Linked DNA regions of Homo sapiens: all the other regions are linked to region 1. Evidence: promoter capture Hi-C in human tissues and cell types (Jung and others, 2019). All regions are on one chromosome and are shown on one strand. Each heading gives the region's core, a stretch centred on a gene start or on the middle of the fragment in contact. The rest is flanking DNA. Distances are from core to core; before and after follow the strand shown. Region 1 holds the start of TRUB1 (TruB pseudouridine synthase family member 1). Region 2 overlaps LOC105378496 (a long non-coding RNA gene). Region 3 has its middle 26 kb from the start of ATRNL1. Region 4 overlaps ATRNL1 (attractin like 1).

What was found. The method cuts DNA at HindIII sites, captures the fragments that hold promoters and counts their contacts. A contact is called where the count stands out against the background at its distance.
Region 2: a fragment that was not itself captured here is called in contact with the fragment with the promoter of TRUB1 in region 1 in 2 of the 25 tissues and cell types used here (aorta and mesenchymal stem cells).
Region 3: a contact is called between a fragment that was not itself captured here and the fragment with the promoter of TRUB1 in region 1, in 2 of the 25 tissues and cell types used here (aorta and mesenchymal stem cells).
Region 4: a fragment that was not itself captured here is called in contact with the fragment with the promoter of TRUB1 in region 1 in 2 of the 25 tissues and cell types used here (IMR-90 fibroblasts and mesenchymal stem cells).

Annotation. Positions count from the first base shown.
Region 1 is chr10:114,936,821-114,939,971 of GRCh38, forward strand. TRUB1 (TruB pseudouridine synthase family member 1) reads left to right here and starts at 1,375. Exons shown (of 8, transcript NM_139169.5): 1 at 1,375-1,719. The coding sequence starts at 1,434. RefSeq lists an enhancer at 1,207-1,746. The HindIII fragment of the contact is 7,626 bases long and covers 1-3,151 here.
Region 2 is chr10:115,081,937-115,085,191 of GRCh38, forward strand. All of the region lies in intron 1 of LOC105378496 (a long non-coding RNA gene), which reads right to left. Among named protein-coding and RNA genes, the nearest start is that of ATRNL1, 9.8 kb to the right of the region's middle. The HindIII fragment of the contact is 7,764 bases long and covers 1-3,255 here.
Region 3 is chr10:115,065,859-115,069,503 of GRCh38, forward strand. No RefSeq gene overlaps it. Among named protein-coding and RNA genes, the nearest start is that of ATRNL1, 26 kb to the right of the region's middle. The HindIII fragment of the contact is 3,345 bases long and covers 1-3,253 here.
Region 4 is chr10:115,123,371-115,126,831 of GRCh38, forward strand. The region is part of intron 3 of ATRNL1 (attractin like 1); the gene reads left to right. Among named protein-coding and RNA genes, the nearest start is that of ATRNL1, 32 kb to the left of the region's middle. The HindIII fragment of the contact is 3,762 bases long and covers 1-3,461 here.

The DNA.
Region 1 (3,151 bases), core at 125-2,624:
TATAAGCATCATATGTTACCCCTAGTTCTGTTCTCCCTCTGCATCCCTCACCCCCAGAGCCACAAGAGAAATAGGGAGGCTTGCTGATGTCCGGACAATTGGGAAAAGGCCTCTAATCTCCAAGTGCCTTGGAGTCATCCAAGTCATCATTGATCAAGCCTTGCAACCTTCCCTGCAAGTCCCTGGCTCTCTGCTTCCATGGCACAAGAATAGAGAACTCTTTCCTGAGGCTAATGGACACCATGCTCCTTTGGGTGCAGTCATCCCTTCTGAAGTCACAACATCTTTGTGGAAAAATTAACATCTTGAAGCAGGGCCAGGTGTCCACTAATCCTGTGATATGCCAATCTTTTCAGTTAGCTTAGGCTTTTATAATAGACCACAAGAGTAAGTGACTTCCTTCTAGGAGTTTCAGCTTTCCACCCTGAAAAAACTCCCTCAAAGATTTTTTTTTCCTTTTAATAAATTGTTCTGCCATGTGTCTGTTGCACGAATGGGTGCAAGTTCAAATGGGACCCCATAACTGGTGATTGTGAGCAGCTAAGGGGCATCACTAAAATACTAGATATTAAAGTCCAAGAGTATGATGAGGACAAAGAGTGGTTGTAAAGAAACCTAAAAAACAATGAGGGCAAACTTTATCTGTCTCACAATAGTTATGATAGCATTTAATGTTTCTGGTGCAGAAGTAATTTTTCTCCACTCTGCCTTGTGCTGGAATCAAAACAATATTCCTCAATCTTGTTAGGGAGTGAATAACTTTTAGGGAGAAGGTCTCAAATGGGAAGTGGTTTAAAGTTTATGAATTGCAAGAATACCTTTTGATATCTAAACAAAGTGTACTAAGGAATTCAACCCACAGAAGAGCTGATATTCAAAATCAGAATTATTAAAAATTGTAGTGGGGTCAGTGGGGGTTTGGGGAGGGTGAACAGGAGTGCATGAAGAGCATCAAAATAAGCACAAGTGATTTACCATTGGCTTGGTTTCTTCGGGGAATTTGAAGAATTCATACTTATTTATACGTTTTCAAATATTTATTTAAGTGCCTACAACATGTGAGGCATTTGGGAATGTCTCAGTTAACGTGGTACATAAGTTCCTTGCTCTAATAGAGCTCACATTTGGATGTCTTCTAATTCTGAACCTGAATGTAAGAGCACAATACAATCAATGAAGCAGTGAGCCCAGGAAGCCATGGATCTTCACAAGCCTCAGGAAAAGTCAACATTTAAAATTTTCTATTTAAAGTCCAAGGGCACAGCAAGCTCTTGGTCTATATGGGAAGGCCATGGACTACAATTCCCACAAGTCCGTGCGACCTCTCCGTTCTGCGCAGCTTCGCGGTATGAGGAAGAGGGTCCTGTCAGGCGCACTCTTGTTGCATCATCAGCGTGCACCTCCACGATGAAACAGGTCTGGGCTACAAAAGTATGGCCGCTTCTGAGGCGGCGGTGGTGTCTTCGCCGTCTTTGAAAACAGACACATCCCCTGTCCTTGAAACTGCAGGAACGGTCGCAGCAATGGCTGCGACCCCGTCAGCAAGGGCTGCAGCCGCGGTGGTTGCGGCCGCGGCCAGGACCGGATCCGAAGCCAGGGTCTCCAAGGCCGCTTTGGCTACCAAGCTGCTGTCCTTGAGCGGCGTGTTCGCCGTGCACAAGCCCAAAGGGCCCACTTCAGCCGAGCTGCTGAATCGGTTGAAGGAGAAGCTGCTGGCAGGTACTGCAGCCCGGGTGGGGACCAGGCTGAGGCGGTCGCTGCGAGAGGGGAAGCACATTAGGCTTTTTGCGACGCTCGTGATTCAAGAGACAAAAGGAGGGGAAAGGGAGACTGACCATTGAATTAGCTCTGGACAGGAATCTCGGGCATCTCGGGCTTGGACTTGCCCTGGCACGAACTCTTGTAGCCTACTTGGCAGTTGTAGTTCTCAACGGGAGGAAAAAAATCCCGTACTTACACAATAAAACCCTGCCCTTGGGCGTGCAGACCTGTTTTCTGTAATCTGATCGATCCCTCAGGAGGCTTTTGTTGGGTTCATGTGGATGAACCCCAAAAGGAAGTACTGGTTCTGCACCCCTAAAGTTGCATTCCTCAAAATGTATTGGAAATGCAGATATACTTCGTTAACCAAGACTTAATATAGTCGTTTTCACATTTTAATGGGCCTAACAATTACTTAGAGTCTCTTGTACAAATACAGATTCCTAATCCCTGCCCTGTCCGAGATTGTGATTCGGAGAGTTCGGGGTATTTTTAGGAAACTGCAATTCTAAATAGTTGCTCCAGGTGATTCCAGTGTAAGTAGTTTATGGACCACATTTGAGGAACACTAAATATAACTTGGCCACTAAGCTGAGAGTGTTCATTTTATTGATTCGTTTATTCACGTACACTGGGAAAATAGTAGAAAAGCCTAGAGAATCACCCCGTTAATCAGCTCGGATGATTTCACACATAAAGCATCCAGGATCCTTAAGTTCATTGGACATATACAATAAGCCAGGTCTGTGCTAGCCTATAGAGACTTGAAGATGAAAGATAACTCTCTTACCTTAACTGAGCTGATAGCCTAGTAATTTCTGCACCTTGTGGTGGTAAAACTAGTTAGTTAGGTTATTCAAGGCCCTCCAGAGTTTGGCCGTATTCTGTCTCGCCATTAAACCAGTAACAGGGACTTTCTTACATTGTTTAGTGTCCCATGGAAAACTTTACACTTTAAAAAAATGCAAAAACAAATTATTCTGATGGGAATTATAACTGACAGTACAGATTTAAGTGTTTATGGGCAAATAGGTACACTCCTGCAGATGTTTAATTCCAGTATCACGACTACTTATTCTTTTATTAAAGTTTTGCTTTGTTGCCTGAAAGTATGGGTCATACAGAGGACGTCAAAGTGAGGAATTGCATCAAGGATATGTATTGTGGTATCATCATAGTTTTTTAGTTTTCCTTCATAGAACTGCTGCTTTCCTGATTTGTTAGCTAAACTCTGGGTTTCTTTTCTTTTTTTTTTTTTTTTATCCTTAAGGTAATGATTACCATTCTTTCAGACAAGTTTCTGACAAAGCCATATTCTGGCCTTCTGGCTAATCTGCCTCTAAGAACTGAAGTTTCTTGTTGAATCTTGGTTAAAATGTTTCAAGGCTCT
Region 2 (3,255 bases), core at 507-3,006, 150 kb after region 1:
ATGATTCTAATGCATCTCAGAAGGAAATAACTTAAATAATATCTTCACAGGTACTGACTTAGTTATAACCCTTCAGGAAAAGCATGTAGACACCATTATGGACAGTTCAAAGAATACATCTTTTTAAAGAGCAGTGATAATTAAGTAAATAAGAAACTATTCTGGCTAAAAAGGGTTATAGAAAACAATATGATACATTTATATTCATTTTTACAGGGTATATAATCATCCTAATTTTGAATGGCCTGTTCCATTTTATCTTCTTCATCTTAAAAATGACTGAGCTAGACAAGAAGTAGTGTAAAGGAGGTCATAAAAATTACAGTGGCAAGATAGATCCCAAAGGTGAATGACTAGGACTTTTAAGTTGGGAGAAAAACAGTAGAAATCTGATAAGGGCTATAAAATAATAAATGTTAAAGAGAAGGATGATTGGATGCTTATTTACATTTTCTAATAATAAAGGAATAAAAATACACTTGATAAAATGAAAAGGCAGAAAAATTTAAAACTCATGAGTCTTTTTTCAAACTTAATTAACTTTAGAACTTCAATCATAGGATAATTGCTACAGATAGTTTAGGATGATTCAGAAAGATTAAGCATTCATGGGAATGAGGATAGCGTTTCCAGCACCAGAATTAAAACAAAAATAATGAGCATTAGAAAGTCCTGAGACTTCAGGGCATACACTGAGCATAAGCCAGAGGAAATGTTCCCAGCTGGTATAATATTGTCGACCTGCCAGGATTGCTGGTGATCTACAAGCCTCTGAGCATGAACTGGGGGTTAGCACTGGCTTCTCTGGTGGTTTCCTTTGAGTCATTGCATCCTCAAAGGCCATATTACCAACACAGTATTGCTGCTTTGCTGTTTATTCATACATATTTTTGGTGTCTGGCTAGCTCAGAATGCCCATATTTTTTCTCCTTTTAATGAGGCTAATTTTTTTCTAATTTTGAGTGATCATTTTCAGTTTTACCCTTTCCAATCTTTCTCTAATAAGTATTTCATTTTGACTAGTCTGCATGTTTAAAAGAAGATCGGTTGATCCAAGAATCTGTCAGTAATGATGTTATTATTTATGCAGAGGAGAGTTGGGATAATCTTAGAGACTGACATTTCCTTAAGCACCCTCCTAGCCATTAAAAATAGCAGAACTGTTGCTGATGATATCTGCCAGACTTGAGTTTGGGAAGAGTGTTTCCCAGTGAAGACCTAACCTTTCATTTTAATTCTCCCCTTAGATTCATTCGCTGTGTAGTCAGAGATGCCAAAATTCCACTGCTAGTTTTGACCTCCACTTAGGGGATGTAAGCAGCTACCTACCATAACTGACTTGAGATGTATGTCAAATCTTTCATCCAGGAGCCACTCTGTCTCAAATCTCACCGTTAGTATTTAACTCCTTTGTGTTCATTCCCTCTTTTGGTATTCTTGTAAAAATAAGCATTCCCTCCATGGATGAGATATTATGCTAAGATCACTAGAGGATGTTAGTGATTCTCAGATAGTGTTTCCTCTAAGAGGCCAGGTAACAAAGAATGTCCACACTGTGTGCGCTGGGTTGGGGGGAGTTGTTGGTGGCAGTAGAAGTGATATATCTTTATATTTTTCTTATATTCGTTATGAAAACTACTCTCAAGAATAGGTACAAAGTCATTCATGGTAAGATGTTAATAACTGGTACAAACAAAATGTGTTAGCCTTTCAAAGCCTTTCGCAATGGAACAAGTGCCCCTAAACCTTTAGCCTAAAGGACAGAATCCTTAGCTGGAGTTCCAAGTTTATAGCAAGAGTGTGGGGGCAGTGTATTTTGTTCTCTGGGGTCTTCCGATGGTCACTTCAGTCACCCTACACAGGTGGTCAGTTACCTTGCCTAGGCATAAAGCAATGGGCTGTGAAGTTGCTGCTCCCCCACCACTCCCTGCCCCAGTGACAGGCGATGGGGCTGTAGCTGCAGAGGAATTATTGAGCTTGCTCTGTGGTTCACCAGTGTTACATGGCCCCACTGGGTCCTTGTGCAGAGAAAGGAATCGAAGCTGACACAGTTCAATAAGGTTTCACTGTTTTTAAAATAATTTTGACATCTTATCTTATTTGGACTTTGGATTCTTCCAACAATGTTCAGGGATGCTCAATATTTTTTGCTCTTTTATGAATAAAGAAACAGGGTGAATGAGGCATGCCCTGTTTGGTTGTTGAGACTGGGTCTGCTGGCTCTTTGTCCAGTTCTCTTGGCACTACCTCCTGCTACCTCCATCAAGGATTGTGTCCAGTAATAAAGAACATGGCCATAAAACATGTCCTAAAATATCTGCTACCAAGTGGTTCAGATAACTTAATAAATAAAATTGTCACACATGCTTCCTAATTGTAGATATAGCATTTTCTGTTTACCCTGGAACAAATTTTCCTAGGAAAGTATGCTTCCATTTCCTGTGCGGAGAGACTTTTAGACTACGTTCCAATTTAAAAATGTAGAACTTGGGGCTCTGGCTTAAAATCAGCAAGGTTCATGTTGACTTTTTTTCATTTAATTTTAAATTTCACATCAGCTTTTGCAGAGGGGTACAAGTGAGGGACTTAAAATGAGAAGAATCATAAGCCTGGTTTTAATTTACTTGTGTACATTTTCAGAATTACTGTGCCTGAAGTCTTCCAAGACTGATGGTTTTAATAAGTGGAATGTCGTGTTATCGGGATTTGTGGGGCCTGGCTATCATTTGTCAGATATTTTTCTTTTTTTATGTGTGTGCTGTTTTGTGGTTCCTTTTTGTCTCTGAGCTCTTCAAGAAAACCTTGTTGCATCCTGATAGCTTTGTCTCTCCTTTGAGAGGGTCCATAATTCTCTTTCATGCTCCTTTCCTTGTAAACATAAACGTATTTTCCTGTGTCAGAACCCCAAGCAGCTTTCTAAAAGCCAGTATGTTATTGTTCTTATGAATTGTTTATTTTGCTTGGAAGCTTTTGTTTTTTAAGTACTTCCTGTGACTGACTTTTTCTTTAAACAGAGAGCACATGAAACAATCCTCAATTTAAGGATTATAGAAATTTTTACCTGGTTTATCTACATGTGAATGATGCCTTATTGTAGCAGTTGTTGGATGTTCTCACAACCAAAACGATCCTTTCTGTTTCTCAAAATCAAAAGTGCTTCTCTTTATGTTCAATGACACTTAAAATTGGTTTATTTAGATTTAAGATGATACAACACAATGCAGCGATTCCTAATAAGAGTTACCTTGAGAAATT
Region 3 (3,645 bases), core at 331-2,830, 130 kb after region 1:
GGTCGGCACAGACGGAATGCAGTAGCACACAGAGAGAAGCAGACACTCGGAGATGTCTGACACCTTTCTGCTTAGATTCCAGTCAGTTCAGAGGCCCAGACGCATTCCTGTCTGGAAGCATTCTGATCCTGTTTTGTAAATCAACAATAAATCCCTTGCCACCCTCTTTGCGTGTTAGCTTAAGTTGTCTTGCTCTTAAAAATCTAAAGAGTTCTAAATGATATGAAATGTCTGTTATACAGAAAGTAGAATGACAATTGCCAGGGGCTGAGAGGAGAGGGAAATGGAAAATTGCTCAATGGTTATAGTTTTAGCTTTGCAAGAGGAAAAAGTTGTGGATATTGGTGGCACAACAATGCGAATATACTTACCACTACTGAGCTCTATGCTTAGATACGGTTAAGATGGTAAATTTTATGTTATGTATATTTTATCGCTGTTTTTAAAAAAGTTTAAAATAGCCTGTTGTAGTCAGCTTCCTTGTCTTCCTTACTACTGCAGCCATATTCAGGTCTCCATGGCCCAAGGTATGGACAACTGTAGTCACCAAACTGGTCTCCCCACTTCCACCCCTTGGAATTTGGTCCCCAGCAATCTACCCTACATGCATGGAGCAATCAATATTACCCATAAAGCACTAACGCTGTGCTGTACTCCAAAATGCAAACCTTCATGGTGTCCCATTGAATTCAGGATCAAGTTCATACTCCCCAGCTTGTCATACAGGACCCAGTGATCCTTTCCAACCTTCTGACCTACTGATTCCCAGTAGGAAGCAAACCCTAGCAAGACTGGTCTGCCTCATCCCAGAACAGTACTTACTCATGCTGTTTCCTTGCCATGATTACCTTCCTTCTCCTCACCACATCTTATCTTTCTTTCACTTGATCTTAGTCCAAATGCCGAGAAGCAATCTTATCTTACTTTCAAAGCCCAGGTTCAGACCCATCAATTCTATAAAACATTTCTGACCACACTAGTCCTCCATGGACATTTATTTGAATTGAACTTCTTAGCATTTAAATATACACAGTTTCTTATTCATCTGTCTTGTTCTTCTGCTAGTTTATAAATTGCTTGATTATAGAACATGAGCTTGATAATCTTTGATTTTTCCTGGATACTGTGTTCTTGCTAGGCTGTTAATAATGCTTGTTGAATGAAATGAGAAATGAAGAACGGCTGCTTTACCAGTTTGTCTCTTCTGCCAACTTTTTTACATGGATTTTACACGTCAACTTTTTTACACAATGATTAAATATACCTAATTTGATCATCCCAACAACACTAGTAAATATATATGATCATTATCCTCATACTACAGATGAGGAAACACAGGCACACATCGTTTGTTTGTTTTTTTTTTTGAGACGGAGTCTTGCTCTGTTGCCCAGGCTGGAGTACAGTAGCACGATCTTGGCTCACTGCAACCTCTGCTCCTGGGTTCAGGCCATTCTCCTGCCTCAGCCTCCCGAGTAGCTGGGACTACAGGCATGTGCCACAATGCCTGGCTAATTTTTGTACTTTCAGTAGAGATGGGGTTTCACTATGTTGGCCAGGCTGATCTCGAACTCCTGACCTGATGATCTGCCTGCTTCGGACTCCCAAAGTGCTGGGATTACAAGCATGAACCACTGTGCTGGGCCAAGCACACATAGTTAAATAACTTGCAAAAAAAAAAAAATCGTATCTATTTGTAGGAGGCAGAGTCGTGATTCTGAGCTGAATCTATTTGGCTCCTAAGCTTATGCTTTTTCTACAGTATCACCACATATCCCATACTCTATTGTTATTGTTGGCTTTATTGCCTGTTTTTCCTGTGAATTTTAACCTTCCCAAAAGCAGGAATCTTATCTCAGTATATCACAGAGAATCACTAAGTATCTATAGAGGAAAGGAAGGAGAGAAGGAAAGAAGAAAAGGAAGAAGGAAAGGAGGGAAGAAAGGAAGAAGGAAAGGAGGGAAGAAAGGAAGGAAGGAAGGAGGGAAGGCAAGAGGGCAGGAAGACAGAAAAGAAGGAAGGAAGAAGGAAGGAAGGGAGGGAGGAAGGAAAGAAGGGAGGGAGGGAGGGACGGATAGGAGGGCAGAAACTCTGGAAAGGAGCTTGTCTTACTCCTAAGCTTGGTAAAGATCAGTCTTGCAAGGGGCTTGACTAGAAAACACTGGCTTATCTCACTGAACCATATTCCCAATGTCATTGACTCCTTTCCCCTGGGGAGTAATTCAACCATGTGTTCACTGTATGGATCAGAGTTGATGATGAATATTCTCTTGCCTCAGTCTCTTTTGGCCAGAGTTCCTTGGCTTCCAGCCTGCTCCTTGCTTGTTTTGAACGAATAATATATGACTTTCCTTCTTAACTGGCAAATGCTGAACTGTGGCCTCTCTTAACCCTCAAGTCTCCCGATAAAAAGCAAAATATTAGATTCGCTGACCAGCGCTACTCCTTACCCCGGCTGATTTCACATGAAGAGCTATATATGGGGTGGTAACATAGGTTTAAGGATGGATGTGCATATAACTCCTGGATACCGTTCCTGAAAATATACTATTGGGGATTATTTCTTTGGTTGAAGAGTCCCTTCACTACCACATGTCAGTCCCCTTACCTATAAAATGGGAACCTTAGGGTTGTTATAAGGATTAAATGAGTTAATGTGTATAATGTGCTTAGCACAGTACCTGCCACTCAATGCTATTATTGTTGTTGTTGTTATTATTATTGGTAGTAGTAGTAGCAGTAGTTGTTGTATGAAGATGCATGATTTCCTGGGAAAGGTAGCACATTAAGGCAGGATCAGTCATGAGTTACCTCAAGCAGATTAATTTACTAGCCCTTTCATGCTATTTCCCAAAGGGATGGTTTATCAAGTTGAGGAAGATGTAGATGTGATTTATGATGGATTTGAGGTTAGTACTGTGTATCCAGGTTGTGTGTGAGAAGACAAGAAGGAACTGAGGGCACAGCTGTACTTAGGAAGAACTCTGGTTTGCAAGGTACATAAGCTAATTCAGACGAGTTTAAACCATAGGAGATTTTGTTACAAAGGCACTAGGTAACTGCAGGGACCAGGGAGCAGGGTGTCCACTCTCATTCCAGATTCTTTTGAATTCTGTATATTTTATTCTCTTTCCACAAACAGACTTTCTATCCACGGTGGTGATGATAACCAATAACATTTCCTTCAGTCTCACCCTTGTAGCTCTGTGACCAAAAATGCAAAGCTGCTGCTTCTCCAGCTTCAAAATTTAATAAGAATCACAGGGCAGAACATTTATTGGCTAGGCCTGAGTTGCATGTCTAACCTTGGAGAACTCACTTTGAATAGGGGAATTCAGAACTAGGATTGGTGGCTCCACAAATCTCACAAAAATGGAGCAAAGTAGGAACTCATCAAACAGAAATCAATAGATCTCCACTGGCTTTATAGTACGTGGTTCTGGGAATCCAGATATTCAGAGCCTAGGTGAACCTGAACATTTCCCTTTAGGCAGATGGAAATCCACGTTCTTCTAGCTAAAATTTTTCCATTCTCTTTGAGGGGAGTTTCCATGGAGAGGCTAGCTTTGTGGGAGAGAGTGGGAAGAAACAACTCATGCTGTTTTTCATTGGGGACCATTCTTATTGCTACTTTAGTCCAGTCC
Region 4 (3,461 bases), core at 424-2,923, 190 kb after region 1:
TAGATGGTAGAGCTAGGATTAGGACTTGAATCTCAATCTCCTGATTTAAAAGCATATGCTGTTTGTACTTCATCTTGCTAAGAATTCAGAATCTAATATGTTTGAATTACTTCAATTGTATAAATATTTATTACTCAACATTTAATTACAGAGACTGTGTCACAGGCTTAGAGTACATAGTAAGGAAGAAGGCATAGGCTATCGCAGTGGCTTTAGACACCAACTACCTGCAGTTGGGCTAGAACAGATTTCCTAGGTTAAGAGCACAGTCCTCTACAACAAGGGTCTCCTCTCCACCCCAGATCCCCGTACCAGTCCATGGCCTGTTAGCAACAGGGCTACACAGTAGGAAGTGAGTGGCGGGCAAGTGAGCAAAGCTTCATCTTTATTTACAGCTGCTCCCCACTGCTTGCATTACTGCCTGAGCTCCACCTTCTGTCAGATCAGCAGCGGCATTAGATTGTCATAGGAGTACAGACCCTACTGTGAACTGTGCATGTGAGGGATCTAGGTTGCTCATTCCTTATGAGGTTCTAATGCCTGATGGTCTGTCACTGTCTCCCATCAGCCCCAGATGGGACCATCTAGTTGCAGGAAATCAAGTTCAGGGCTTCCACTGATTCTACATTATGGCGGGTTGTATAATTATTTGATTACATATTACAATGTAATAATAATAGAAATAAAGTGCATAATAAATGTAATATGCTTGAATCATCCCAAAATCATCCTCCCCCGGTCTGTGGAAATTTTGTCTTCCATGAAACTGGTCTCTGGTTCCAAAAAGGTTGGGGATTGCTGCTCTATAACACTGCTGTCATTTCAGACACTAGCTGCAAGCTTGGTGCTCCCCACCTACTCTGACCATCTGGCTACATATTTAGGGGTTCCTACTCTGTCCTAAAAGTTTGATAATTCACTAGAATTATCATAGAACTCAGGAAAGTTCTACACTTATGACTATAGTTTTATCATGAAGGATAGAAATCAGAGCCAGCCAAATAAAGGGATGCATAGAGTGAGGTCTGGGAGGATCATAAATGCAAAGCTTCTGGGTCCTCAGAATGTGTTACCCACCCAGCACATCAACATGTATCACCAACAGGGAAGCTCATCTGAGCTTCAGGTGTCCAGAGTTTTATTGAAGTTTCATTATGTAGCCATGAGTGATTGAATCATTGGCCATGAGGCTGAACTCAAATCTCCAGCCCCTCCCATCCCCTTCTCTCTCGGGAAGTTAGGCTAATACCATATGGCCCCAACATTTTAATCACATGGTTAGTGTTTCTGGAGTGGCCATCCCCTATTCTGAATTATATCTTTAGCTTAAATTAATTAGGGGCCCACCATGAGTCACCTCATTGGCATAAATTTTCAGGGCTCACCATGAATAGGAAGACACTCCCATCACTCAGGAAATTTCAAGAATTTAGAGGTTATGTCCCAAGAACTGGGGACAAAAGCCAGCCAAATTCTTTAGTATGCAGTAGTCATGCATTAGTGGGGGTATGTAAACAGATTTTTCACACAGCCTAGTTAGTGTTACAATCAGGTTATGAAGGAGTTCTATATAATTTCAAAATAAATAACTAATCCTTCATGTTGACTTTCATCGTGAGTAAAAGTATGAAGTATGGGGGTCAGATAGGACATTCTAGGGAGAGAAAAGCATATATACAAAGGTATAGACACATTAAAGAGCATTATATTTTAGGGCAATAGTTGAAAGTTTTGAGTAACTTGATTGTAGGAACTGTGAAGGATACGTAGGAGTCACATTACCCCAAAACAGCAATCAGTGACATTTACTTAGTGCTCATTTTGTGCCAATGTACAGGAGTTCTTTATATGCATTAGTTTATTTAATCCTCAAAATAACCTTTAGGTAGGTATTAATATTGTAATTTTACAAATGCAGAATTGAGACACAGAGATTTTCTGTGAGTGGCCCGAAGGTTGCCTAGCTGGTAAGTCAGAATATGAATCAAGGTTATGTAATTATAGGTCCTAATCCCTTAATCACTGTAATATTGCTTGCTTGTACACCACACTAAAGAAGTTGGGCTTTTATTCTGTAGGCAAGAGTTTTTAGAATGTGGAGAATGCATTGGAATGGAGAAGTGTTATTTTTTTTTTTTTTTACTGTGTGCTGGACAATTGTGTGTTGGACGTTGTTGTTTGGAAAATCATATATAGTAATAATTTGAGGCCTAGAAAGATTATATTCTTGCAGAGACTACCTGGGGACACTCGCAATCCATATTCAACTCAATCCAAACTCAGATACTGAGGTGATTCATAGCTCAGCTGCAGTGCAGTCCTTTGGAGGGCCTAACTTTAGGTAGTTTGCTTTCACTTCCAACCATTGGAGTCCCAGTTCAACGTGAAGGCCTTGTGTTTCACTTTTTCTTTCCTTCATTCTGTAAAATCCCTGAAATTACCACCGAGTTTTTTTTAGCCCTTCAAATCTTACCTCCAGCCTTGAAATCAGCAAATGCCAATAGGGTAAATGACCTCAATGCCTGGGCAGGCCTTCAAGCTGATTTTTTTGTTTTTATATAATTTGTCATTTTACTAGATTTCAGTTGGTCCGAATTTCCTGGTGTATTATACAGGAAGTGGAAACTCTCTTTTATTTATTGTTTTTAAAATACTTGTAAACAAAAAACCAAACAGATCTATTCTTTTTTGTTTGTTTGTTTTTTTGAGACGGAGTCTCGCTCTGTCACCAGGCTGGAGTGCAGTGGTGTGATCTCGGCTCACTGCAACCTCCACCTCCCAGGTTCAAGCGATTCTCCTGCCTCAGCCTCCCGAGTAGCTGAGACTACAGGCATGCACCACCGTGCCCACCTGATTTTTTTGTATTTTTAGTAGAAATGGGGTTTCACTGTGTTGGCCAGGATGTTCCTGATCTCTTGACCTCGTTATCCGCCTGCCTCCACCTTCCAAAGTACTGGGATTACAGGCATGAGCCACTGCGCCTGGCCCAGACCTATTCTTTTTATCTTTTTCAGAGAGCGCTCAGAGACTAGCTGTATCTATTATAAAGACCTATTTTTAGTAATACTCACCTTTATATAATTTTATTACAATGAACAATATGTATGTATAACTTAAGACTGGTGTCATAGGGTTTGTATTGTTTTGAGAGTCTCATTTTAAAATCATTTGTTGCTTCACAAACATAACCTAGTAGATGTAATAATAATTACTAAAGCGTTAAATCAAGAGTTGATTACTTTTTAACTTGTTTGCATTTGAGAATGTATTTTCTAAATCAATTATTTGACTATAATATTTCATTTATGTGTCAAATATGATTTGAATGGGGGAATTCAGTTCTTAGTGGTACCTAAACATAATTTTAACTGTTTAAAGGAATTGACCGTGTCGAGTTATATAATTTGTTTGTTAGCAGCTTCTTTTCTTTCACCAATTGCATGTTTTCATAGATTTAGAGA